Linked DNA regions of Homo sapiens: region 1 is linked to region 2. The links are contacts of gene promoters, found by promoter capture Hi-C in human tissues and cell types (Jung and others, 2019). All regions are on one chromosome and are shown on one strand. Each heading gives the region's core, a stretch centred on a gene start or on the middle of the fragment in contact. The rest is flanking DNA. Distances are from core to core; before and after follow the strand shown.

What was found. The method cuts DNA at HindIII sites, captures the fragments that hold promoters and counts their contacts. A contact is called where the count stands out against the background at its distance.
Region 1: a fragment that was not itself captured here is called in contact with the fragment with the promoter of GPR65 in region 2 in 1 of the 25 tissues and cell types used here (lymphoblastoid cells).

The regions. Positions count from the first base shown.
Region 1 is chr14:88,599,137-88,601,836 of GRCh38, reverse strand. The region is part of intron 10 of ZC3H14 (zinc finger CCCH-type containing 14); the gene reads right to left. Among named protein-coding and RNA genes, the nearest start is that of ZC3H14, 37 kb to the right of the region's middle. RefSeq lists an enhancer at 1,506-1,785. The HindIII fragment of the contact is 4,650 bases long and covers 1-2,700 here.
Region 2 is chr14:88,003,743-88,006,442 of GRCh38, reverse strand. GPR65 (G protein-coupled receptor 65) reads right to left here and starts at 1,308. Exons shown (of 2, transcript NM_003608.4): 1 at 1,221-1,308. RefSeq lists an enhancer at 724-893. The HindIII fragment of the contact is 6,432 bases long and covers 1-2,700 here.

The DNA of each region.
Region 1 (2,700 bases), core at 108-2,607, 600 kb before region 2:
TTATATATTCAAATTATTTCAAAGGAAAATCACAACTGGTTCCACTCAGGAAAACAGGGCTATAATTCTATTCCAAACATGTTTTCAAAGAACTCAAGGAGTCCTTCTCGCGTAGGGCACGGCACAAGTGATTCTGATTAACACTCCCTAACCACAGCAGAGAAAGGTTCTCAGGTGAGGCATCTCAACAGATATTAACAATATACCCTTAAAGTACAAAAATCTTTTCTAAAAACCTGGAGAATTTGAGTCCTAATGCTCCCTATAATTAGAATACACAGACTGCTGAACCACTTTTCCAAAATCTGGTTTGTTCACTTCGCACAGTACCACTTAGAATCATGTCCTGATAAAAAGAATTCAAGTGGTATAATTTCCAGTTGGTTATAAACCGAGGACTACTTTAAAAGGTAACTGAAAGGTGAATGGACACTTAAACATATGTATCAAGAAAAACACTGGCCTTTAATGCAAATAACCATAAGCTCACATCATCTACTATTTTATAAAATATGCCAAGACCTACAACCCAGAATGGCTGACCTATCAATACGCCATCAACGGACTGAAGTTAATACACTTCTTTTAAAGCTTAGAGACCAAAATTTACAGGGTATTCATTTATGTTCATTCACTGAGTATTTACTGAACAACTAAGAGAACTGAGCTAGATACACAAAGAAAAAAAGAAAAACAGACACATATACAATTTCAGAATAGCATGACCCAAAAGGGATGTGAACAAGGTGCTGAGAATACAGAACAGCCCACTCCAGCCAAGAACCAACGAAAAGCTTAGCAAGGAGGAACATCTGAAGTCAGCAGTAAAGGAACAAGCAGGAATAAACAAGGAGAGAGACTCGGAGAAACGAACACAGCACTTCAGGCAGAGGAAAACGCACGTAGAAGGAAAGGGGCTTTCACAAGGCCGAAGGCATCTGAGAAAGGTTAGAATGTGGAATGGCTGGAAGGGTGTGTGTGGTGGGCTCAGCAGTACATACCAAGGAAGGCTGACACATATAATAAAGGTTCTTCTATGTCTCAGTGACTCTCGATTCTGGTCTATAATTAGTAAGAAATCAAGTGGCCTGGTGTGGCGGTTCATGTCTGTAATCCCAACATTCTGGGAGGCCAAGGCACAAGGATTCCATAAGCCCAGGAGTTTGAGACCGGCCTAGGCAACATAGTGAGACCTCCCATCAACCAGAAAATAAATAAATAAATAAAATTAGCCAGGCGTGGGAGCACATGCCCGCAGTCCCAGCTACTTGGGAGGCTGAGGTGGGAGAAGTGCTTGGGCCCAGGAGGTCAAGGCTGCAATGAGCAGGATTGTGCCACTGCACTCCAGCACGAGTGACAGAGGGAGACTCCATCTCAAACCAAAAAAAAAAAAAAGAGAAAAGAAATCAAGAGAGGTTCCTAAGGAAGGAAGTGGCCTGATCAAACTGGTTTTTAGAAAAACAGTGTTAAGGAAGAACCAGAGTTCTCGACCTGCTGTTGCCCGGGACAGAGGGTGAGGCTCTGAATGAAAAGATTCTCTGCTGTCTGTCCTGGTCTCACACACCTGACAGGAAGAGAAGACATGCTCCATCCTGGGAAGGGGCGTGCCCGCCTTCCCCAGCAAGGGCAGTACAGATGGTAAAGGGAGACAGGCGGAAGAGAAAGCTGGGATGAGAAACTTAGCAAAAGAAAAAGAGCAAAGTTAAAAGGGGCAAAGATACATTTCCATGTTAGATTTAAAGTCTTTGTGGGACTCTCCCATGTTTAAGAGGAAGTAGAAAATTCAGATTTGACCTGTAGGTGGGGGGACAGAAATAAGATGCTGAGTCAAAACCGAAGGTGACAGAAGTGTTTAACATATTCAGGGTGGCCGTCTCTCACTGAATCCTCACTCAAAGCCTACAAAGTCGGTTTCCTCCCATGTTACAGATGACTGTTTGCAGCTCCAAGTTATTAAATGATTCACCGAGGTCTCACAACTGTCAAAGGTGGGTCCCAACAGTGGCCCAGGGGCTGCTTCACTCCTTCCCACCACTCTGCACTTTCTGAGACGAAGGAGTTCTACCAGTTCATAGGTTGGGTGAACACAGAAGAGATGAAAATAATGCTGAAGGTGGGAGAGAGCAAAGCTAACCTTTTGAGGAGGAATGGAGGAGATGCGCTGACACATGAGAATGAAAGGGAATGAGAAGAATAAAGACAGAGTGAACTGGAAGCCGAAAGGTCAAAGCTTGGAGAAAGTATGGGAACCCAAGTGTAACATGCTCCAGGGTTGAGGAAAGCGTGCACCGGTCCCTCCCGCACACCTCTCTGCAAGCGGAACGTTAGCAGCCCAGGTCACATGGAGACCAGACAGACGGGGGAGTAAGTAACATCTTCTGAGTAGAGACCACAGGCTGACCCCATGCATTTACTTTTTGTTCCCTCCTGAAAGCCCACAGAAATGTCAATAAGGGTTTTGTTTTTGTTTTGAAAGCATAAACTCACAAAGAAAATAAGTGTAAAAAGAAATTTTCAAAGTGGAAAACAGATGATTAAGAACTCAGGGGATCTGTAAAAGCTGAATTCTAAGGCAATAATGAAGCAATCCAATTCAGACCACAAGATTCTCCAAAGGCTCAGGAACTGGCAGTAAAAGGACCTTAGGAAGAAATGGAAGAAATGGCAGGCAAAAAAGAGGTGTATTAGATGTGTCCAAGA
Region 2 (2,700 bases), core at 59-2,558:
TAAGAGCGTGGGCTCTGGAGACAATTCGAATGCCTCTCAACAGCACTCTGGGCCCATTGGTGTTTCTTCACCTCTCTAAGTTCCAGTTTTCACATGTGTAAGTTAGTACCCAGTTTCTAAGATTGTTGTGAGGGTTAAATGAAACGACATATGAAGCAAAGTTCCTAGCACATGGGAGGCATTCACTGTACGTTAGCTGGTAATATTGTTTTAATGACATTGGTAGTCTGCACCAATCTTTGTGCTGTCCCCTACATTTTCTGAAAAGAAATCATCTTTAGTCATCTAGCCACAGCATAGCAGAAAAGCTGGAGGTGCTCAGAGTGTAATTTATATGGTAACACTTCACGTATAATACTAGGCTCTGCAGATAATAGTTGTTCATTTAATTTGGGTGGATCTGAGATTTTAGTGGAATACTGTATATAATTCCTATTACAGTATTCACATATCTTTTCAGATATTATTTTGCCTCCTTTAATCAAATTTTGAGAAAATTGTTTTTAGAACAAGCACTGAGAAATTTTGGTGAGTTTTTAATTTTTTAATTTTTACCAGATGTCAAAAAAGACAATCTACAGTATATTAAAGTATATCTATTCTTGAACAGATCTAAAAATAGTACAAATCATTGATGACGATGACCAAAAGTACAATATTTTCCTACAGTGTTATAGAAAATGCTTGCTTTCATCTATCAGTTTAATAGTTACTTATTAAGACTCTACTATATATTTCAGGCACTGTGGTAGTCACTTATTAACTAATAATTATTACTTGACATTTATTAATACTGGAAATATTCTTTCCTAATATCACATTTTTTTCTGATGGATATAAAAAGTATTTACTGGACCATTGTACAGATGAGGGATTGGTGCCAGATAGCTCTAAAGCCAGGGGCTGGTAGGCTTCTTCCTAATACTGAATGAAGTTTGCCAAAGCACTGTTTCCTGAAAAGAAAATAAAGTATGAACAACCCCCTTTTTCTATATCTATGGTTTTGCCTAATTAGTTCTAAATTTAAAGTTTGGCCCTTTACCACTGCTCAAAGTAGAGGAAACCATGTGTCTTCCTCATTTCTTTCTCTCTTATCATGCTTTGCATTACCACATTTATACAGCCTAAACCAGGAAGAATGTTGCGAACATCACTGACAATTATGCCAAAGCATGTTATCTACTTTAAAATATTATTTTATTTTTTAATCTTATACTTACCCATATTTCTTCCGGTGATGTGTTTGTTGACTGAGGAGCTTGATAAATCTGTGCCTGCATCAAGTCAAGAAGAGAAACCAACACTGCTGAGGGGACAGGAAATTGCACTCATATTTCAGCACAAACCAATGAGGAAGCAGCATCTCAATGAGAAGGGTGTGCGTTATCCAAGTTTGAACAAAAAAAGTCTCTTAAATACTTTTAAAGATGTTTTTATTTATTGTTTACTGTACTGTAATTTTTATAACTCACTTGTCTCATTGCATCTTAATTACAAGTATGTACTGATATTATATTATATGCCCTTTACTTAATGGAATATATGTTAAATATTTTATTTATTTCTTTGTTCATTCATTCATTCATTCATTCATTCACTCATCATGCCAGCAGTGTGCGGGGAGATGTATACGAACTGGCTATCAACCAAAAGCAGCTTTTTTTACCTAGTAAAGGAGAAAGACATGTTTAATAATGATTGTAATGCAATGGCAAAATGAAGAAGTACTTCAAGAGGGGTACAGATAAAATAGAATGAACCATTTGGATGTGTGAGATAGGGGAGGATATTGTAGGTAGATTCAGGGTGATAAAGTTCCTGGGACAAAAACAGAAAAGGGAGAATTGAGGCTGAGGGGTTTAATGATGGATATTGTGCTGCTTAAGGCAGGGGTTAAGGTAGCCAACCTCATACCGTCTTTCTTTTCTTTTTTTTTTTGAGAGACTAATGGGATTAGATATATAGTATTTGATTGTAGAACTATTTTCTCCTTTGATTCTCTCCTCTTGGAAACAGAGATGGCTAAAAACCAGTTGAATTAACTAGCTGAGACAAATAATTTTATGAAACTTGAAAATTTTATTTAAGACTTACATTGTTATTATAAAAACTCTTGTACTTTAGCAAGTTAAAGTTAATGCCAAATCTATAAGTGGTTTAATATGAAGTGAAATTAGCTCCTATAACTTTCTTACTATTGATATATAAAAAAGTCAGAAATATCACTTTTGAATCTTGCCCTCATAAACTTTTATTAGAAATGAAGGGAAAATATTATTTGAAAGAACAGAATTTATTTGGGATGAAAACATTTGACTTAATTTTAAAGATGTAATCAGGACATTTTGAATCTGTGTTTGTTAAAGGACATTAAGGGTTGTTGCTGGTGTTTTTTTTTTGTTGTTTTTTTCTCCCTACCCAGAGATAGAAAAGATTAGCCTGTATATAAGCAAGGCTTTCCATATTGAAGTTGATCAGGGTATATCAGGAATGTAAAGATTTTCAATACTTCCGTTGTAGGTCTTTCTTTGAGAATAATAAAACTAATACCTTACATTTATAAAGCACAGGATAGTTTATAAAGTAATTTAGCATATAGTAAATTATAAATCAATATATTGTTACTGAAATAATAAAAATTAAGTATAAAGTAAAAAATTAACAATAAATGTCTTGAAGTTTTACAAAAATGAAAAGTAA